6 separate regions of the Homo sapiens genome follow, and all the other regions are linked to region 3. Evidence: promoter capture Hi-C in 16 types of primary human blood cells and fetal thymus (Javierre and others, 2016). All regions are on one chromosome and are shown on one strand. The core of a region is centred on a gene start or on the middle of the fragment in contact, and the rest is flanking DNA. Distances in the headings are between cores, read along the strand shown.

Region 1 (3,658 bases), core at 30-2,529, 200 kb before region 3:
TAATTATCTCAAAAAGAATGTATCTTCTGTACAATAAAAATTATTTACATAGGCCTTGCTGGTTTGCCTGAAATGCTTTCAGGATACTTTACATGTAAAAAATATCTGCATAGTTTGTATCATAGTTGATGAAGAGAGGGGTAGGCAAGGGGTTTTTATGGTTTTCATTATCTTTTTTTAACTTGTTTTAATCAGATTAAACAATCTCCCAGAAAAATTAAAACTGCTAAAAAAAACTCTACCAAAACTGAAGCAAATAACTTCACTAACAGCTGATTCCAAAAAGTTTGAGGCCTACTAATTTTCTCCTAAACTTTTCTGGATATTTTCCTGGAAATTACAGTTCCAGAAAACTAGAATTGTTAACCTCCAGGAAAATATCAATTACAAAAAGGATAAAAAAATTCTACTGCAGTAAAACCCAGAATGTCCTATGGAATTCTGTGTAATGAAATTTTATGTGTACCCTTAAGAAAAGGAGCAACATCATATGTCACAGATTATCAGATGTCCATTTACTGCTAAAGACTAGTGGGCAGGGGAGAAAAACTCTAAAAAGCCTTTGAATGTGGTAAAACTGACAAAAAACATCAAGGCCTCAGGAAAGTAGCAAATCCCCTACTAACTCAATTACCTTCCATGAAAGAGTAATAAGTCTTGAGAATCAAGGAAAAGTAATAACTGATGAGCGAGAAGGGGAATATAAAACCTTTTCTAAGGGGTTTTTGATTTGGGTCCTTTGACATCTTAAACTGGAATGTTTGGTTCATGCTATTAGCTTATTAACAGAATGAATAAATTAAGCAAGCACCAATGGTTAAAACACACAATGAAAAGGTGGCTGATTCTTAGCAAAAGGGATTGCACAGGGTTCTCAGGCTAGCTGGCATTGTTAATAATTTGGGTAAAAAATGTTCTTATTTTGTGTGAGGTAATGACTGTTCACTACTAGGTTATAGTACAACCGAGTAAGTGATTACAACTCAAAAACGGCAAAATAAATGAGAAAATTAAACAAAGCTTAAAAAAATAAAAAATTTAATAATTTAGTAAGTATTAAACAAGGTTTAATAAACAAATTAGATTATGAAAGAAGGTTGGAGGAGACATACATAAGTATAAAAAACATATCTGCAGATCAAAGAAAAATGAGTTTGTGCAAATGGGAGAGGAAAAAGACCTAAGTTTCACTGTAGATCAAGGCAGCCAAATAGTGCTAATTTTAAAAGCAGTTAGGAGAATATAAACATTTAAGAAAATAATAAGACAAATAGAATATATAAGCACCTATCTTTTACTTAGCACTGACCAGAAATGTAATTGTTTTAAGTCCTACAACTTTAAAATTTAAAATCATAAAAAACTTTAAAAGGGTATTAAATATATCATCCTCATAATAAGAAAAAGACAGTGCTCCTATATGGTAAATAACTGCATGCAGCATTTAGTAATAACATTGTTAGTATAACAACATATTCTAGAGATTTGGAGGGTGCCAGTAACCATGCTAAAATCCATATTCACTCAGCAAAGCTTCCGCAACTGATGAAATAGGTATGGAGGCACTGTTTTCCTCTATACTCTCCAGAAAGGTGTCTGTGAGGGTTTCTTTGTAAAGAAGCAGTTACAACAGTATATCTTAACATGACAAATGTATTCCTGAGAAATTACTTCTAAATTACATATTTTTTTAAAGTACCAAATATTTTAGTTAAAGAAACCCTTGGGGTATAACAAAGATGCCACTATTTGGATATCTGTATTTTCACATATGCCTTTATAGTACACCCGTTTTCAATAAAGGCAATGAAGCAGTCTACCCAACTTCTTAAAGGCTTTTTAAGAGACAGATCTTTACCAATGCAAATAATCACAACCTAATTTCATTGCCTAAAGTCAGTCAAAATTAGATCACTTTGTAAAGTGATGACGATTTCAGCTGAACACAAAGAGCAATGGGTATAGCCAGTATAGATACTCAGTAATTCTAACTAATTATTAATCATTCTAAGCCCATGTGTATTTTAATTTTCTGAAACCAACTGCTGAAAGAAAACACTCATGTTAATCAATCTACATACTGATTATAAGCAAATACATTTAAATATGTCACTTTTAATTTGTATTTCAAAAGAAAGTATCTAACTCAAAAGGATTTAGGTTATTTTACTACCTTTCAGGAAAATATGTATAAAGTATATAACAGTGTGTATGTTATTTTTGAAAATACTTCATTTTGAAAATACATATACTCCATCTTAACTGAGAATAAATTAAAACTATTATTTCTATCCTTAATTTTCTGACCCATGATTGCAAAGTTATTTTTCATACTCCCCCCCCCCAAAAAAACTAAAGAGAAACAAACTACTAAATACAGCAATTCTCTCCTTTACTTTCTACAATATGGTTACATTATTACTTTCATAATTTTTAAAAATTGAGGAAAAACACTTCTACAATTCAGTTTTTGTAACACAAATTAGTTTTTGGACAAGCGTAGTATAATTTAAGTCTAATCTTTCTGGAAAGTCAAAACGATGTTGTTGTTGTTTTTTTGAGACGGAGTCTCACTCTGTTGCCCAGGCTGGAGTGTAGTGGCGTGATCTCGGCTCACTGCAACCTCCGCCTTGCAAGTTCAAGCGATTCTCCTGCCTCACCCTCCTGAATAGCTGGGACTACAGGCATGTGCCACCATGGCCGGCTAATTTTTGTATTTTTTGGTAGAGACGGGGGTTCGCTATGTTAGCCAGGCTGGTCTCGAACTCCTGACCGCAAGTGATCCGCCCACCTCGGCTTCCTGAAATGCTGGGATTACAGGTGTGAGCCACTCCACCCAGCCAAAATGATGTTCTCAATTGGGACAATTTAGCATTTTTTTGGTGATTGGGATGCCTGATTTAATTTCCTCAGTTTTAAATGTATGGAGTTGGCAATGTGATAGTTAATAGTATTTCCAAATTCTATAGATTATTCTGTTAAAGGTTCTATTTCTCCCCCACCAGTCACTTAAAAATCCAAACAACAATACAACCTGACTACAGGAGTACTTTATTATAAATGTACAGTTCTTACAGTAGAAAGAACAATATGAAGATGTGGGCTCTAGTCACTGTTGCGTTACTAAGTTTCTATCTGTTACCTAGAATAAGTCATCTTTTAAGGTCTCAGATTTTTCCCACTATGAAATGAGAGACAATTACTGTAACATTCTACCTTTCAGGGTCTAAAATTCTGTAGTTCTACTTTACATTAAAACTAATATAAAACTGATCTGATTGTCAAAATATTTGAAGATACAGATAATTGTTTTAAAGTAACAAAAAATTTTATGACTCGAATTGTGCTAAGAAAACATAATTCATGCAAATTCAGATCTACAATACAGATAAATAAGGAGAAAACAGTCAATTTCAAAGAGATTCTTCAATTTCAAAACAATTTACTAAGAAGTTTTACATAACAAAATATGGTTCAAAATTTCAACTTACATGTAACTTTTTAGAAACAGAAACAAAGATGATTCTCAAATATCTGGACTGAATAATTCTATGTCAAAATCAGGTAATACTTGTATCCTTAAAATAAAAACCTTCATCATAAAGAAAAAAGCCCTGCTTTTCCCTTAGCTAATTTAGTATGTGACAGCTTTAAAATC
Region 2 (3,433 bases), core at 150-2,649, 160 kb after region 3:
CCTCTCACTGAACTTTCATTAATATGCAAATTTCTTCCCTTTTTTTTTTCTTTGAGAGTAGCTGGGATTACAGGTGCGTGCCACCACGCCCAGCTCATTTTGTATTTTTAGTAGAAATGGGGTTTCTCCATGTTGGTCAGGCTGGTCTCGAACTCCCGACCTCAGGTGATCCGCCTGCCTTGGCCTCCCAAAGTGCTGGGATTACAGGCTTGAGCCACTGTGCCCGGCCCTGGAATTTCTTCCCTTTCTTAAAAGCTGCTTTTGGCGGGGCGTGATGGCTCATGCCTGTAATCTCAGCACTTTTGGATGGCTGAGGCGGGAGGATTGCTTGAGCCCAGGATTTCGAGACCAGCCTGGGCAACACGGCAAAACCCGTCTCGACAAAATATACAATTTTTTAAAGCTGCTTTTTTCGGGGGTCAATGTTCTTTCTCAGGGGTCTCTTGAACTGCCTTAGGCCCCAAGCTCAAAGATCCTTTTTTTTTTTTTTTTTTTGAGACAGAGTATTGCTCCTACTGTCGCCCAGGCTGGAGTGCAATGGCGCAATCTCGGCTCACTGATACCTCCGCCTCCTGGGTTCAAGTGATTCTCCTGCCTCAGTTTCCGAAGCAGCTGGGATGTACAGGTGTGCACCACCACACTTGGCTATTTTTTTTCTAATGTAAGTAGAGACAGGGTTTCACCATGTTGCCCAGGCTGGTCTTGAATGCCTCAGTTCAAGTGATCCGCACCTCGGCCTCCCAAAGTGCTGGGATTACAGGCGTGAACCACTGTGCCCGGCCAGACCAAAGGTCTTAAGGCTCTTCCAGAATCCTCTCCAGAGCTTCTCAAGCTTTCCAGGAATAAGTACCTTTGGGGAAAGGAGGGGCAGAGCTCATAAATACTCCCTAATCTTTTTGGAAGAATCCCCTGAGGCACTTGTTAAATATGCACTCCACCGGGCTTCTCCACAGGAAACTGATCAAGCAGAGGGCTGAAAGGCCAGAAATCTGCATTTTAACAACTGTCCCAAATGATTCTGCCTCTACCCCTTTTCCTAAGATGCTTGCCACAGCTCCTGCATGCGAGCGCCACCTTCTTCCAGGCATTGTGTGTGTGGTCTTCTCTGCCTGCCCCCACCACCCCGCAAACTGTCCCCTTCCAAAACACCCTCCTTTTTCACCTATTAGAAGCAAAGCATTTCTTGACAAATTCAGCCACACTGATTTCTTTCTTCTCAACTCCCACTGCAATTAGTCATGTCACCTTTTACATGTACTATTCAATAAAGCTTGTGGATAAATTGCTATCAATTGATCTTATTCATTTGTTCTAGGTAAAGTCTAGTGTTGAGACAGCAAGCAAGGTTAAATGATTTACAAATGTTAAGTGTGTGGAATGTGAATCTGGAGCCATGGTTATTAACCCCAAAGAACCCCAGTTCACCATGTTTAAACTGTTGCCATTGAATGCTAACAGAAAAATCATACATTAGTTTTCCCACAAGGAAAGCAATTTATTCCATAGCAGCTTGATAATGACAAGCTTTCCCGTTTCTTCTCTCTCATAAGCAGTTTACTCACATAGTTAAAGGACATATTAAATAAAGCTGCCTTCTCAAATGAGCTGGTGGCATTTGCCTATAAATTGTACCATGAAAAAAAGCAAATGTTCTAATGGTAGAGAACAGTAGTTCAGCCAGCTCTTCATTCTCTGAGGAGGAGGGATGTGGAGGATAGCATTTATAAATCCACAGATGACTTCCAACTGCGTTTCATCCAGTACAGTAACTGTGGCAACTGCTACTTCTTAGGGGGGCTGCTATCCTTGAGAAAAGAAAGCCAAACACCGAGATCATCCCTAGGGTCACCTTTTAATTCTAACAACCTGGAATCTGATAACTCCAAAGGGACTGTACTTATCTTCCCAATAACTACCAATTGCCAAGGGGCATAAGTTATGCAGGAACTGATTAGCAAATGTGGACAGCTGTCGGGACTCACTACTCCCCACCACAAGGCTCAGGAGTGGAGAGGAGCTTTTGGCCCCTTCAATGTCTCTCTCACATATGGGTGCCAGATGTCCAAATTTGAGGGCATAGAAGAACAATCTGGAGTTATTCTTTTTGTCATTTCATTTGGTTATGTGGAATCCAGGGCCCATCATGAATGACTCAGACTTAATAGGTCTACAGTAGGATCCAAGAATCTGCATTTTAAAAAAGCACTTCATAGGCTGGGCGCAGTGGCTCACACCTGTAATCCCAGCACTTTGGAAGGCCAAAGCAGGTGGATCACCAGAGCTGGGGAGTTTGAGACGAGCCCGGGCAACACGTTGAAATCCTGTCTCTACTAAATACAAAAATTAGCCCGGCACAGTGGCGTGTGCCTGTAGTCACAGCTGCTCAGGAGGCTGAGACAGGAGAACTGCTTGAGCCTGGGAGGTGGAGGTTGCAGTGAGCAGAGGTGGCGCCACTACACTCCATCCTGGGCAACAGTGCGAGAGAACCTTGTCTCAAAAAAAATAAAAATAAAAATTAAAATTAAAAAGCACTTAGTGCTGGGTCTGAGGCTCTTTGGAAAACAATGTCCATTTTTGCAAAGTGCCTCTTCTCTCACCCTTCCTCATCTGTGTGTGTCTCATGCCTTTCTGCATTTACTCCTGCTTTTTCCAAACAAAACGCTTTATAGTAATCTCTTCCAATCCTAACCATGCTTCAAGAGCCAGCTGAAATGCCACCCATTTCTAGAAGCCCAAAAGGGACTTCCTGCTTTCCTGCACCCTTGTGCCATTTCCAAGTCAAGAGAATAAAAGGTGTTTCATTTCATTAAACAGCCATTTCATTGTGCAAATCTCATCTCTTACTGGGCAGTAAACTCCTTAGGGACTGACTAAAGCTCATGTTTTTAACTCCCATAATAAAGCACCTACATTGTGTGAGACATTCTGTAAAGATCTGGAATGAGTGAACAAGCAATGAATGAATCAATGCAGGCATGTTTCTTCCAACAAGCTGCTGAAGCTAAAAATGCATGAACAGGAAAATTGTCTAGACTTTATAGTAACTGCCTACAAAAGTTTAAGTACCATAAAGTCCTTCAATTTCCTTATCTGTAAAACTAGGGGGTTTCAGGGGATTTCTTAAAAGAAGTTCATTAAACACTTTCTTGGGTCAAAAGCCCAACATTCCAATCTGACCTGATATTATTACTCAGATAACAGTAATTACTCAGATAACACAGCCATCTATGTTTTACACAAGCTAACAGTATTCCCATGAGGAGGTACCTACTAACCCTGCCTCTGAGACTTTGAGGGAATTTAAGATATAAGCTGGTACAGAAGACATCACCTGGTTTTCTTTTACTTTTCCTACCTCAAACCTCTAACAATGTTGTTCTTAAAATTTCCAGCAAGAAAAAAGTTATCAGGCAATATACTCATTCTGGCAGTT
Region 3 (3,544 bases), core at 713-3,212:
GGGTTCAAGCGATTCTCCTGCCTCCCGAGGAGCTGGGACTACAGGCGTGTGCCACCACGCCCAGCTAATTTTTGTATTTTTAGTGGAGACGGGGTTTCACCATGTTAGGCAGGCTGGTCTCGAACTCCTGACCTCAGGCAATCCACCCTCCAGGGCCTCCCAAAGTGCTGGGATTACAGGCGTGAGCCACTGCGCCCGGCCCAGAGTTGCTTTTTAAGAAAGGAAGAGAAGACTCACCCCCAAGAAAATAGAGGCAACAGCAGTATTAACAAAAGAAAGAGATCATTACATTCTTAGGCTCTTCAGGGATTTAAATCTGGAGCCTCCTGCAGCTTTCTGACATTTGAGCCTTACTCTAGGGTGATTTCCACGGTTCCCACGTCCCTTTCAAGAGAACAGCTATCACTTATATTCCTCAGTGTTTCTTCTTTGCTCCAGACTGGTTGTGAAGCCGTAAAAAGGGTAACGCTGGAGCCCAGAAATCAGCTGGTGAATACCGCGCCAGGTGCCAGGTCCATCGCGGCGAGGCTGCAGGAGCCCTGGAGGGGAGCAAAAGGAGCCCCGCGCGCACCGGACAGGCTGTGCTCTTTGTTAAAGAAACAAATACAGAAAACGCCGCGGCGGGGAATGGTGGTGGTGAAGAAATAGACTGAGGCGTTTGTATGCATTAACTGTGCCTACAAAGCCCATTAAAGAGACGCTCCTACACAGGGCAACCCACGGCACCGTGTCATTGGCTTTTGTGCACTTGAAGGCGCGTGAGAGTGCCCCGCTCGAAGGCTCCCCTTTGTGTGAAAGTGTGGAAACCAGAAGCGTGCAGCCACTGCTGGGTTTTCGTTTTCGAATTCGCAGGCACTTGGGCCAAAATACTCCCACACCAGAACACTCTCTCATTCTCGCACCAACAACACTCAGACTTGAGTTACTTCTCCGTTGCGGACCGCGCAAGGAGCGACAATGGCTAGGTGCGAGTGCCCGCAGCTCCCCGGGCAGCTCCAAGGGGCCGCCCGCCGCGCTCCGCAGCTGCGCGCTGGGCCCAGCCACCCGACAGCCAGCAAACGCCGGCACCAACCGCCGCGCGGCCGGGCTGTTGGGCGGGTGGTAATTTCTGGGAATGGGGCGGGGTCGCGGGTGTACTACGCCCGGCTTTTGCTAGCGGGGAGGAGGAGCTGGCGGCGCCGAGGGGCGCGAGGCTGGCGGGGCGGTGCGCCACGTGCGTCACCGGCCGGGGCGGGGCCGGCGTCGCGCTCCTGCCCGAACCCCCACCTTTCACTAAGCCAAGGCTGAGGAGTGGGAACTGGAAAGACCGGGCTAGGAGTTTTTGCAAAACCTCGCCCCCCTGTAACTGTCAGACTGCCCGACTGTGGGGCCGTCTCCGGAGAAGGGCGAGAGTCCTGAGTTGGGGATGCGGTGACGGCGGGGCCTGCGGGGGCCCTGAGTGGCGAGGGTGTGTGCGTGCGGTCCCGGCCGGCGGGGGAAAGCCGGCGGGCGCTGCAGGTGCACGCGCGGCCCCATCGGCCTCACACGCCTGCCCCGTGCGGCAGAGCCCCCTGCACCAATCCGGGGCTGGAGTGGAGAGCGAGATCGGGGAGCCCTGGGCAAGGAGCCGGACAAGTGACGAGCGTCTTTACCTGGGAAGGCGGGTTTGGGAGAAGTTGGGCGAGGAGAAGAGGGCGGGATTCAAGACAGCAAAAGAAGCAGGTTCGGCGGGCTGGTGGGGGCCCGAGGGCGGCGGGGCCCCGCGGGGTATAAATAGCCGGCCCGCGTTTGACAGGCGCTGCGGTGACTGGCGGTGCCGCCCCCGCCCCCCCGCCGCGTGGGGAGGGGAGGAGCACTCTGAGCTGGCGGGGAGGGGGAGGCGGACTCCAGTGTCCTGGTGGAGGCGGCAGGAGGCCGAGGGGGAGGAGCCGAGGCGGGGGGTGGAGGGAGGGGGCCGGGAGCGGAGCGGGGCGGGGGCAACCATTGCTCCCAGCGCCAAGCTCTGTGTCGCCGCCGTCGCCTAGGCGGTTGGGGGTCGGTGGGGCGGCGCGGGCGGGGGTCGCTGCGCGGGGCGGCGAGCCTCTGTTTTGTCTCCTTCTCTCCCTGTGGAGCGGCTCGGGCTGCTGGGGAGGCCCCGGCTCCCTCCGGACGCTCGGCCAACGGCGGCGGCTAGTCCGCGGCCCTGCTGAGAGGGAAAAGGACGCCGCGGTCTTCCCAGGCGTCGCGGAGAGCAGGTAAGAGCGCGGGCAGCCGAGGCTGGTGAGAGGGAGCGCGAAGGGCGCGGCGATAAAGCCTGGCTGTCCCGACTGCCGCCGCCTCCCTCCGCGCCCCCGCCCCGCGCTTGTGTTGTTTGCTTCGGGGTTTGCGGAGGGGTTTTCCGGCGGCTGCGGCGGTGACACCGGCCGGGGGCTGGGGGAAGGGGGCTGAGTGTCCCCAGGCAACGGTCGCGGAGCGGGACTTGGAGAAAGGGGAAGGCGCGCTGCGCGCCTGCCCGCGGGGAGCGCGGGGCGCGGGGCAGGGCTGAGGGAAGAGGTTACAGACCCCGGCGGGGGGGATGGGCCGAGCGCAGCTGGTCTCTCCGTGTTTACATCTCTGCGCGAGTCACCTCTGCCGAGAAGCGGACTGAACTGACCCGCCTCATCCCGCGGGGAGGCCAGGGCGGGGGTCCGGCTCCGGAGGAAGCGCGTCCTGGGAGGGTTTGTGTAGGGCGGGAGTCTGCGGCCGGCGCCGGGGCTGGGCGGCGAGCTCGGGGCGGGACCTGGGAGGCTCCGGCCGCTCTGGGTGGCGGGCAGGCGGGGGGGGGCGCTGGACACCAGTTTCCTTCCCTGTCGTGCCTTATCGCCGCCGCTTACCTTTCCTTCCCGGCGCTGCTAGCTTGCACGACAGGTTGTACTCGGCAGTTCTTTTATTCTCGCTCTCCACGCCGGCACCGTGCTGCCATCTCCCCCTATTCCCCGGGAGGTAGGGAGGCTTTGCTCGGATCGGAATCTGTTTCTTAAGCAAAACAAAAACGGGCTCGTAACAGGCACGTCCAGTGACCGCCTTCTGGATCCTCGCGAAGCTGGTCCTCAGGGACCGCGCGACGGGATGGTCTAGGGGCGCGGAAGGAGGACAGGGAGGGCTCTGCCAGGGCTGGATGCTGACTCTACCCCAGGAGCTTTGTGATCAGGGTAGCCGAGCCCTCTCTTCTGCTCCATTTGGGCATTTTTATTCCATGTCCATAAAGGACTCAAAAAATATTCCGTGACACCAAGAATAATCCAGATCGCACAGTTTCTAATCTTTTTCCCTCTGCCAGCATCCTGGATGGACTCTTTCTAGGAGGCAGATTCGCTGCAGAATAGCCTTTAAGTTTAGTACTTCATTAAATGAGGAAGAGGGGGACACGTCATTGTAAAACTGTTAAAAATTCCCCCCTTTCTTGTGTTCATGAACATTTACTTCAGCTTAATGGTTTAAATTGTAATCCGGTGATGAGAGAATAGTAATCGTGTGTTTGATAATCAGATTTGTTTTCCTTTTTATCTGTGATTCTCTATCCTGAAGTAAATTATGCACTTTCTTT
Region 4 (3,921 bases), core at 1,422-3,921, 180 kb before region 3:
CAACTACTCAGGAGGCTGAGTTGAGAGGACTGCCTGAGCCCAGGAGCTCAAGGCTGCAGTGAGCTATGATCGCACTAGTGGACTCCAGACTGGGCAAAAGTATGAGATCCTGTCTCAAACAAAACAAAACAAACAAACAAATAAAATATATTAATTGTAAACTAGATATTTTGCCCAACATACAAAAATGTAAAAGAACAATAACCTTCAGAGCTGGCAATAATGTAAAATAAAAGAAAATCTCAATACCCATGTTGGTGGTAATAAAAACTGATGAACCTTTTATCCCAAATTCTCATATCCTTCAACCCACCGATTTCCACTTCTAATAATCCATGCTAAATAAATATGCACATAATTATGTACAAGGACATTTACTATAGTACTATAATGGTGAAAAAATTCACATAGATTCCTACAGTCACTAAAATGTTAACAGTGAAAATAATAATTATGATATGCAGACATGGAGCAATACTATTAAATGGGGTAAAAAGTCTAAGTTGCAGAACACTGAGTATGATATAAACCCAATTATGGACTAAAGAAAAACAAATCAAACAAGAAACCCTGCAAAGAACCATCCTGAAATGCATGTGTATATGTACACATAGAACTCTGGAAACTAGTTGTGCATAAAGGGAATTGATCCTTTCACAGGGATAATTGCTGGAATGAAGAATGGGTGGGAGAAAAGTGAAAGGGGATCTTCATATTTGCTAAGTATACTTCTGTATTAATAGTCTCAGCTTTGAAAAGTTAATTGTGTATTATTTGTATAATTTGAAGAAGAGAAGGAGGGAGGCAGAAGAATAGAAAGAAAAACAAAAGAAGCCAGAGGGTCATAGCTCTCAACTTTAACAGTAAATTGTCCAGCAGATTCTTCTTACTGGTGTTTTCTTCTAAGTTGAAGCAACACCAACAGGTAGAAAGAGATTCAAGTGATATCTGTACAAAGGCTTCAGTATGTGACCTTAGAAATTTCTAAACTGTCCTTAGGCAACAGGAAGTAAAACTTAACGACAAATTAGCAAAATAATTCAAAAGCTGTTTAGCAGGAAGAAGGATATAGAAAGTAGCCAATCATATCCTCAAAAAAGAAATAGGCTTAAAAGAAAAAAAAATTAAACACACTTTTTATGCCCCAATTCCTACAACATTTTTGCCATGAGTAAGGCACAAAATTCATATTTTTGTACGTATGAGATCACTCATTCTCAGGTTCTGTCCCAAATAACTGTCTAAGAAAGACTTCTCCCTAGTCATTCCGATACCCTACTATAAAAACGGTACATTAAAAATGAGTCAAATGATAAGTCACTGTGCAATTTTCCTAGCTTTATCCCAAGCTGGTTTTTAATGTTCAAGCAATATTCATTTTTAGTAGGTTAATTATAAATTACTATTAAAAAGAGGAATAGGCTGGGAATAGTGGCTCATGCCTGTAATCCCAGCACTTTAGGAGGCCAATCCCAGCACTCTGGGAGGCCGAGGTGGGCAGATCACTTGAGGTCAGGGGTTCGAGACCAGCCTGGACAACATGGTGAAACCCCGTCTCCACTAAAAACACAAAATTAGCCAGGCGTGGTGGTGGGCACCTGTAATCCCAGCTACTCAGAAGGCTGCGGCAGGAGAATCGCTTGAACCTGGGAGGTTGCAGTGATCCGAGATCATGCACTGCACTCCAGCATGGGAAACAGAGCGAGACTCCATCTCAAAAAAATAACTAGTAATACTAATAGCCAACACTAATGTAGAATTATAATACTAATTATACAATTAGCAATCTAGTACCTGTAAAATAGTTAGCAATTTATAATTTTGGGTAAACCAGATATTAAATGTAAAACTCATAACATGCAAACTTCTTAAATGCCAATGAATAACTGCAAATTAAATTCTTGTTTAACTTTGGAAGCATAAAAGTAAACATTTTTCTTTTGTTGTTTAGAGAACCTTGTATAATATCTTTCCTCGTGGTGCTCAAGACATGGAGCAATACTATTAAATGAAAAACATAATACACATAAATACACATAAACACATCAGAGCACAAGAAGAACTCTGAATATTATACCTGTATCAGCTTCGTGTTCTTTATTCTCATCTGTAAGGGGGTTGTCATGAAGCTTCAAATAGATCTCTATAGCAATTCTTGCTGCCTTGAAGTAAAATGGATGCTGTCGAAGTACATCTTCTAGTTTTAATAAGTCCACATATGATCTAAGGGTAATCTTCCTCATACAGTATGTATGAAAGTCAAACTGGTCATCAGTGATTTCTATAAAATGCTAACAAAATTATCTTTTTATTATTATACCGAAGTACAGCAATGGCTAAGAAAACTATAAAATCAAAGCATTGGAATACTTGTTACTTTGGCATGAAAAAAACTAGTAAAATTTTAAAAAAACAATTACAATTATTCAACAGGAATATTTTGCATTTCAAATAAGCAAATACAGTTAGCCATTGTCTAGCACAGGATATGGCATACTGCAGGCACAGAATCATTTGTTGAAAAAGGAAGCTTTAAAAATGTTTATTCATTATCCCTTCCTTAATTATACTTAAAGCTATTGTGACAACATCAAACATAATTTATTTACATAGTAGTGCAAGTAGACTCACATGTTAAACATTGAGTTTTTATATTTAGAATCATTTGCAAAGGATTATAAGATGTATTTGATAATTTTTTTTTGAGGATACAAATCTGAATCCTATGCAATGTGATGCTGGTATGTGGAAAAGAAATCAATTAGCAAGTAAGTCAAGCAATCAGGAACTTGATGCATTTCAACTAAGCTTTGGTATTCTATACTTGACAATATTGCAAATGTGAAATTAGTTATATAAACTATGTTTATCTGTGTAAAACACAAAAAAGAAAAACCAACCACTAGTCATGGAAATGAGTCAGACGTGAAGAGAATTAAGAAAACAATTTTATCAAACAGCATGAAATTAGATAAGCTACAGAAGAAATATTGTGAAAAGTCTTCCAACATTTATATCTTACCAAGGGTATATGGCATCATCAATAAATTCTACAATGAACAGGGTCCTAGGAGTACTTTAATCAGCTGTGTATGTACTACTAAAGCGGCAGCAGCAATTTGGAAGGTTCAAAAATCAATAAAAACATAGCCAAGATACAAATTTTCCATAAAGTTTTTTAAAAAAGAGTTCTTACCACAAGACAATAGAGACCCTGGCTGAAAATGCAGTCTATATTTCCAGTATGAAAACTGAAAAAAGTGAATACTGATTTTAAAAAGCACCTACTATGAATTATAAAGAAATAGAAGAGAAAAAAACTATGAAATTTGTCCAAAACCATCGACAGAATAAAACAAGAAAACTTTTATGTAGAAGGTACTTACTCTCTCAATCTCATGACATTTCTTAAGTGCTTCACCAAATTTATTCATTGCTTTATAAGCCTGGGCACATTCTGTTTGGAACCACATGCACTGCATTTCATTCAAATTCTCTACCGCTGATGTTCCTTCCTATACAGAAATCAAATATTTTCAAGATCACTTTTTATCATAGACATCATTCTACCACAGAATTTTAAAAAACAAAGATGTTAAGCTGATTGGGACTCTTTCAAAAAAATTTTTAAAACATTCTTAAAGAATAGTTAACATGGGAAAACAACTGATATTCTCTAACTACTAAAAATAATTTGTAGTTTCACAGGTGAAACTGTGAAACTTTTGAACACACACTGTGTGTTCAACACTGTGAAACTTTGAAACACAAATGTAGTTTCAAAGGTCTACATAATTGAGGGTAGGGATTAATACAAGAAAAAGAACACCACCACATAGCAGGTATTCAATAAATTTTAGTTCCCTTGACCCCTAAAAAATTTATCTGAACGTACATGAATATAAACCAGTTTAAAAGTCC
Region 5 (3,933 bases), core at 1,422-3,921, 170 kb before region 3:
CCAGTTTTTCTTATCAGTACCATTATCCTCCGACAAAAGTTTATCTGGCAAACAATGGCTATACCTATTATGCACATGGATGTATATTATACTTTTTGTGTTCAACCTCAAGGTGAGCCAAGGGAATGTGAAACCAGCAAACTTCAGTTCCCTAGACTAGCAAGGACAAAGCAGCATTTCAGAAGGTAATTTTTTAAAAAATCACTTGTCCTTTCATTACTTGTTATTCTTCTTTTATTTTCTATAATCACGCCCTCAACTTCTAAAACTGTTAAGACTCATTTTTCTCAGCCCTCTGCTGAGTGGGATCTACCCCTCCTATCACAATCTACATATTATGAACCCAAATCTCTGGTCTCCCTTTCTTCCAGAACTCATATTCTTTCTGTGTCATCGAAGACATTCAGATTAACCATAAAGACTCTCAGAAATATCCTATATGTATTTTAGTAAAGACTGATTCATCAATATATATTATTAGCAATAAATCTGGCACATACTACATACACTATAGTTTATTAATAAACTGTTTCTAAGAAATGTCATCCTCTGTCTTATAAAACTAATTGTCTCTTGTGTTTTGATCAAATTCCATAATATTTTTAATACAAAGATACTTTATTTAAAGAATGTTATGAGTCATTTCATTCAACTACTTTTCATTGTTCACAATCAACTTTCTCCTCTATCTACAATATTGTTTAAATGTACATTTTCCCACATCATAAACTATTAAAAGTACACGAGTAAGAAATAGATTTCCTATCATCAAAAAGCTGAATTATATGAAACTGTCAGCAGCAACTAGATTTTTCAGCCTTGCTCTGTCATATTTCAATATTAGAATAAATGACAATTCTTTTAAAAATACCTTTGGTTTCTTCTACAGCAAGTTTATCACAAATCTGCTTTTCATAGGTACAAAGATGTTCCAAAGCTTCTCTATAGAGACCTGCTTCCCGAAGAACTTGATTCTGATATAAGAGTAGTTCACTATATTCATAATCCACCTTGTCAGGGGATGTCTGTATATGGATATAAGGAATACTGACAGTAAGAATTTTATTTTCATATCAGAAAATTGTTCACAATACTCAAAAACATGTAAGAAGTCAAAGGATAACATCCGGTTGATAAAACTAATTTTTAAAAAATTCTTAAGTATCTACAGAGCAACTGAGTAAATAATGACAATATTAGGATATAACAGGTTGAATAAAATAATAATCCATAAGTCCTTACACACAATAAATATGGGGAAGAAGGGAAAGCTCTTACTCAGGAGTAGAATGCCAAATAATAAACCTACAAGGAATGACTAGAGTTAAGAGAATCACCATTTTGCGACTATCATAGTAATACTGATTCAGGCAAGAATCATAATCAATGAATGCTAAAACTAGATGGTGAAAGTTTGATGAGCAATAGGCTATTCAGTCTCAAACTGCATATTAAACACAAAGAGAGAAAAATACGTTTACAACTGCAAATACAACTTTCACCATGTAATCAAATGGAACGAACTGATGGCATGTGCCTCTTGATGTAATGAACGCAGAAGGACCCAATATCATTTATATGGTTTCCTGCCAAAATTATAAAACTCTATCTAAGAATGAGGAACCATCAGAAAAATCCAAATTGAGGGACATCCTACAAAAGCACAGCCTTCTTCAGAAATGTCTATGTCATAAAATACAAAGGAAGTTTTCAAAACTGTTTCAGATTAAAAGAGGCTGAAGAGAAATGATAACTAAATGTAAGGTATGATTCTTAATTGGATCCTGCAATGAAATCAAATTGCTAGAAAGGCTATAACTAGGACAATTAGTAAATTCTGAATATGGGCTGGGGATTAATTAGATAACAGTCTATCAGTGTTAAATTTCCTAATTTTTATAATCTATCCCTATAATACTATCTAGAGAACTGAAAACTATACAGTTATTTTTAGAAAATACACACTAAAGCATTTAGGGGTAAAGGAGCATGATGTCTTGCAATTACTCTCAAACATTTAAGGAAGAAAATTAAAATAGATAAATAGATACACAAATTTTAAAGTAAATGCACCAAATATTAACAATTAGTTTAGTATGAATGAACCCCTATGTAGAGTTCTTTGTGCTATTCCTGCAACTTTTCTATAAGTTTGAAACTATTTCAAAATTAAAAGTAAGCCAGACTATGCACATTATTTTTTTAGTTATACTTAGGATCAGACTTAGTAAAATGGCTTCTAGTTATTACCTGTTGTGTTTTCCTAAATTCTTCTAAAATCTTTGCTGCCATTTCATAATCTTCTAATAAATGGTAAGCAATAGCATAACCAATCCATGATGCTCTCTGCGCAGGTCGAAGCTGAAGTAACTGATACCTCGTTTCCTTTAAAAGGAAAAAAATAAACACTTTTTCTTAGGCTTTTAGTAACAGCAAGTGCTCCTTTAAAAGATCTCCATATTAGGCCAGGCGCAGTGGCTCACGCCTGTAATCCCAGCACTTTGGGAGGCTAAGGCGGGTGGATCACGAGGTCAAGAGATCGAGACCATCCTGGCCAACATGGTGAAACCCCGTCTCTATCAAAAATACAAAAATTAACTGGGCATGGTGGTGCACGCCTGTGGTCCCAGCTACTCAGGAGGCTGAGGCGGGAGAATCACTTGAACCCGGGAGGCAGAGGTTGCAGCCTGGCAACAGAGCAAGACGCCGTCTCAAAAAAAAAAAAAAAAAACACACATTAATTTATCCCACAACCCCAAGCATTTTACAACACAATGATGGGAACAATAATAGAAAATACTTCAAACATCCATATTGTGTAGCTTTATGGAGGCAAAGAAATATTTGTTAAGAACATAATGAAGCCTCCAAGCTAATCTTAGAATTTTTTTAAAACTTAAGACCAGATTTAAGTTTTTAAAACTTAAGACCAAACTTAAGACCCTTCTTTATTTCTTGATCTGCTCAGTCCCAGAAAAGAGGCAGGATGGAAAGAACAGCACAAAGGAAAAATATTCAAAAATGTTTTTAAAAATTAAGTGTCCAACTACAGAGTTAACATACATAAAGAGGAAAGAATATGAAAGAGGAACTAAATAGATCTAACACTAATTTAAGGGTTAAAATCGAAGCTACAAAAATATATTAGAGTCAGTGGAGGTAGAAAGAAGAAACAAAACATTTGTTTTTGCCAGGTGCAGCAGCTCATGCCCGTAATCCTAGCACTTTGGGAGAATAAGGTGGGGTGGACTGCCTGAGCTCAGGAGTTCAAGACCAGCCTGAGCAACATGGTGAAACCTCATCTCTATTAGAATATAAAAAATGAGCTGGGCATGGTGGCACATGTCTGTAGCCCCAGCTACTCAGGAGGCTGAGGCATGAGAACTGCTTGAACCCAGGAGGTGGAAGCTGCAGTGAGCCAAGATCATGCCACTGCACTCCAGCCTGGGCAACAGAGTGAGACTCTAATGTCTCCAAGAAAAAAAAAATTTTTTTTTTGTTTTGCTTTCCAGAAAAATGTGGGAAGTAAATGTTAGAGTTACATGTCAATACTAGACAAAGGCATTGTTTATTTGAGGAGTACTGATTTTCTTTTTTTTTTTTTTTTTTTTTTTTTTGAGACAGAGTTTCGCTCTGTTACCCAGGCCGGAGTGCAGTGGCGTGATCTTGGCTCACTGCAAGCTCCACCTCCCGGGTTCAGGCCATTCTCCTGCCTCAGCCTCCTGAGTAGCTAGACTACAGGCACCTGCCACCACGCCTAGCTAATTTTTTGTATTTTTAGTAGAGATGGGGTTTCACTGTGTTAGGCAGGATGGTCTCGATCTCCTGACCTCATGATTCACCCACCTGGGCCTCCCAAAGTGCTGGGACTACAGGCGTGAGCCACCGCACCTGGCCTGATGTTAATTTTTATCAAATTAAGTCAACCCTACA
Region 6 (3,591 bases), core at 785-3,284, 230 kb before region 3:
TCTATGCTACAGGCATAGTAATAATTTCTGATATTTCTCAGCATTTATTCTGTGCCAGCCACTATTCTAGGGGCTAAATTGCACAACAACCCTGTAAGATAGAAAACAGGTTTCTTTCAATGTCTCAGCCTTTCTTTCTCTCGCTTCCAGGATTTTGCACACGCTGTTCACACTGCTCTCTGCCTGAAACACTCTACTTTCTTTTCCCTTGCTCTTTGACCCTCTCTCAACTGGCTAATTCATACTAACACTTTAGGCCCCAGTTTATTCAATACTTCCTCCAAGAAGCGTTCCTCACTTCCTAAATCTGGGTATATGTGCCACCCTCACTGCCTATATTCCCATTACACCCTGAACTCCCCCATCAGAATACTGTTTACTGGTCTATACCTCACACTGTATTTTATGTTTTCTTTGGGGAAGGGGTGTATCTCTATTACCATTGTAACTCCATTCCCAGAATCGAGCACAATGCCTGGCATAGAAGAGATGCTCAATCACTATATGTTGAGTAAATGAAAAAACCTTAAACAAAGGTTGCTAATAGCATTATGTCTCTAATACCAGCCAGGGCAGAAAGAAATGCATCCCAGACCTACTTGCCAACTGTCCTCTTCCTCACAATTCTGATGCCTCTGCCTGGACCAGTCCTGAAACATCTTTTCATAGGAATTCCATGAGATCTCTAAGGCCAGTTAATCTTCAGTTCCCTATCATATTCAGCACTTCTCCAAATACAAGCCTCTACAGGTGGCTCTCCTTTCCCAGAGAGCTTTGCAAGCTCTCCCAAACCCTTCTGCTTACTTCTGCTCTCCTTTTTCCTGGGCTTTCTGGAACTCCAGCCTATTCAAAACAAACTCACCTGTATTTTCATCCTTTTTTTTTTTTTTTTTTGGAGACAGAGTCCCACTCTGTCGCCCAAACTGGAGTGCAGTGGCACCATCTCGGCTCACTGCAACTTCTGCCTCCCAGGTTCAAGCAATTCTCAGCTTCCCGAGTAGCTGGGACTACAGGTGTGCACCACCACACCTGGCTAATTTTTGTATTTTCAGTAGAGACGGGGTTTCGCCATGTTGGCCAGGCTTGTCTCGAACTCAAGCAATCCACCTGCCTCAGCCTCCCAAAGTGCTGGGATTATAGGCATGAGCCACTGTGCCTACCCATATTTTCACCCTTTTAACAGAATATTCTTTCCATCTCTGGCCTGAAATAGAAACCTGTTTTCCATTAGAAAAATTATCTTCTTACTTCTCTCTTGGGTGGAAGTTGTTAATTTGTCTCACCCTTGTAGAAAACCCTCTCCTTTCAAGCTTTTATTTTTTTTTTAATTATTTATTTATTTATTTGAGATGGAGTTTCACTCTTGTCGCCCAGGCTGGAGTGCAATGGCGTGATCTTGGCTCACTGCAACCTCCACCTCCTAGGTTCAAGCTGTTCTCCAGCCTCAGCCTCCCGAGTAGCTGGGATTACAAACACCTGCCGCCATGCCCGGCTAATTTTTATATTTTTAGTAGAGACGGGGTTTCGCTGTGTTGGCCAGGCTGGTCTCGAACTCCTGACCTCAGATGATCTGTCCACCTCGGCCTCCCAAAGTGCTGGGATTACAGGCGTGAGCCACCACACCCAGCCTCAAGCTTTCATTTTCAACCATCCATCTCTCTACTGCTTCTTACTGTCATCTACTAAGCTACTAGTTATTCTTCTCTCTGGTTTATGGTCCCATCATCATCTGAGATGACCTCACTGTCCATGTGAACAGCCCTAGTCTCCAATTCCTTGAATCCTCTCAATTTGATACCCTTTAACACATTCCACTTGGTCTATTCTATGGCTGTACCTGTTTGCCAACATTAGGTGGTTTGTCACAACTTTATTCTGTTCTTTGGTCTATTCTATAGCTAAATCTAAGTTTGTTACAAACCAGGTGGTTTATCACCTCTTAAATCCTAAATTTCAATCTCGTTCATTCCTTTAGCTCATCCATTTTCTTGCTAAAAGCCCTCCTCTGCCACTTCCTTATCCTAAATTTCAATCTTGTCCATTCCTTTAGCTCATCCATTTTCTTACTAAAAGCCCTCTTCTGCCACTTCCTTCCTTAAATCAGCCTAGATGCATGATCTAGGTTTCATGATCCAACTTTTCATAAACACCCTCAATCCTTTGTGCTCTTGTTCACCTGGCCCAAATTCGGCCTGGGTTTTACCATGATACTATGCTCCACTACATTCCAAGTTTGTGGCCTAAGTACTAGAATAGGTACTTTTGGTATGGTAGGGGCATATAAGATGAAAAAAATCATCCAATATAAAATGAATCCAGCCAGTATATAACAATATAATCATTTACTTCCTATCCCTGTACCTAGCCTTGTATAGGTAAAAATTCTCTCATCCTCTTATTTTTAATGTTGGTTAGGGGCTTTATGTAAAGCTTCTGTGGCTCCAAATGTATTGAAGTGTTCAATGGATATGCTCCTTTTGAAATCTTATCACTGTTCTCATGTAGGCTAAAAATGGAACTATCTATAACTTTCTTGCTTCTTACTGGTAGGTTTATTTACTCATGCAGCAAATATTTGAGTACCTACTATGTATTTGGCATACACTTTGCCCTTAAAGAGCTTATAACAATATAAAAATAAGACAAATACTCAAAAAAGTTTAAGATAATACTACATATGACTAAAAGAAAGATGGAATGTGTTATGAAAGATCAGAGAAGAAAGAACTTATATCCAGCTGAGAAAATCCTTAAAGAGTGGGCAGAATTTGCTCAGTTGACGAGAGGAAATAATATTTCAGCCAGAGTGAGAGATATAAGAAAAGGCTTTGCATAGGAAAGGATTAGGAATAACCCAGTTCTTGTTTGTTTACAGGTGGATGGAAAGCCGATTTCCAGTCTTTATGATAACGCCGATGTTCCACTTGGGAAAGATACTGTACAACAATGAAAGTAGCCCTTTCTTTTGTCTTTCAAAGAATGTATTTTTAACAAACAGCCTCTGTGTGATCCTTTTGACCACACAATTTGTAGAGTTAACGCTGAAATTTTCATTAGCAACAATGAAAGCACACACAGGCACAATATTAATATAGATTAATATCAGCCTATTTTGGTCAGAAAGGCTCATTTAAATGTTTAAGAGACAGAAGTCCCAAATTGTAGTAATTTCTTCCACTAGCAGGAGGAAGCTCAGAATTAGTTTTTCTACAACACTAGAGGAATACTACTCAAAAATAAAAAGGAATTAACCATTGATACATGCAACAACACAGATGAATCTCAAAGTAATTGTGCTGAAAGAAACCAGACCCAGAAAAAGATAAATTCTATATGATCTCATTTATATAAGACTCTAGGAAATGCAAACTAATCTACACATACAGAAAACTGAGGGCAGGTACTGAGAAGGGTAGGAGGGGGGCGTTACAGAGAGGCATGAGGAAACTTTTTGGGGTGATAGATATGTTTACTACTTTGATTGTAAGGATGAGGTCGCAACTCTGTGCGTGTCAGTGGTATATTTTAATATGAACGGCTTATTTTATGTAAATTCTACCCCTATAAAGCTGTTTTTTTTAAAAAAAAAAA

What was found. Contacts are between HindIII fragments. The CHiCAGO score rates a contact against its expected background, and 5 or more counts as called.
Region 1: a fragment that was not itself captured here is called in contact with the fragment with the promoter of ELF2 in region 3 in 1 of 17 cell types (erythroblasts); the score reaches 5.0 in erythroblasts.
Region 2: a fragment that was not itself captured here is called in contact with the fragment with the promoter of ELF2 in region 3 in 3 of 17 cell types (total CD8 T cells, non-activated CD4 T cells and activated CD4 T cells); the score reaches 6.8 in total CD8 T cells.
Region 4: a fragment that was not itself captured here is called in contact with the fragment with the promoter of ELF2 in region 3 in 1 of 17 cell types (erythroblasts); the score reaches 7.5 in erythroblasts.
Region 5: a fragment that was not itself captured here is called in contact with the fragment with the promoter of ELF2 in region 3 in 6 of 17 cell types (erythroblasts, M1 macrophages, naive B cells and 3 more); the score reaches 7.7 in erythroblasts.
Region 6: a contact is called between a fragment that was not itself captured here and the fragment with the promoter of ELF2 in region 3, in 1 of 17 cell types (activated CD4 T cells). The highest score is 5.9, in activated CD4 T cells.

Annotation. Positions count from the first base shown.
Region 1 is chr4:139,378,946-139,382,603 of GRCh38, reverse strand. The region is part of intron 17 of NAA15 (N-alpha-acetyltransferase 15, NatA auxiliary subunit); the gene reads right to left. Among named protein-coding and RNA genes, the nearest start is that of RAB33B-AS1, 73 kb to the left of the region's middle. The HindIII fragment of the contact is 513 bases long and covers 1,023-1,535 here.
Region 2 is chr4:139,018,133-139,021,565 of GRCh38, reverse strand. All of the region lies in intron 1 of NOCT (nocturnin), which reads right to left. Among named protein-coding and RNA genes, the nearest start is that of NOCT, 4.1 kb to the right of the region's middle. The HindIII fragment of the contact is 254 bases long and covers 1,273-1,526 here.
Region 3 is chr4:139,175,636-139,179,179 of GRCh38, reverse strand. ELF2 (E74 like ETS transcription factor 2) reads left to right here and starts at 1,962. Exons shown (of 10, transcript NM_001331036.3): 1 at 1,962-2,213. It overlaps LOC105379412 (a long non-coding RNA gene), which reads right to left and starts at 3,025. Exons shown (of 4, transcript XR_007058273.1): 1 at 2,832-3,025. RefSeq lists a cis regulatory region at 501-625, silencers at 992-1,371, 1,382-2,341 and an enhancer at 2,942-2,991. The HindIII fragment of the contact is 9,266 bases long and covers 1-3,544 here.
Region 4 is chr4:139,360,094-139,364,014 of GRCh38, reverse strand. NAA15 (N-alpha-acetyltransferase 15, NatA auxiliary subunit) reads right to left here. Exons shown (of 20, transcript NM_057175.5): 13 at 3,387-3,515; 14 at 2,078-2,291. Among named protein-coding and RNA genes, the nearest start is that of NDUFC1, 60 kb to the right of the region's middle. The HindIII fragment of the contact is 278 bases long and covers 2,533-2,810 here.
Region 5 is chr4:139,341,278-139,345,210 of GRCh38, reverse strand. It overlaps NAA15 (N-alpha-acetyltransferase 15, NatA auxiliary subunit), which reads right to left. Exons shown (of 20, transcript NM_057175.5): 5 at 2,251-2,385; 6 at 872-1,025. Among named protein-coding and RNA genes, the nearest start is that of NDUFC1, 41 kb to the right of the region's middle. The HindIII fragment of the contact is 3,464 bases long and covers 940-3,933 here.
Region 6 is chr4:139,404,773-139,408,363 of GRCh38, reverse strand. No RefSeq gene overlaps it. Among named protein-coding and RNA genes, the nearest start is that of RAB33B-AS1, 47 kb to the left of the region's middle. The HindIII fragment of the contact is 796 bases long and covers 1,637-2,432 here.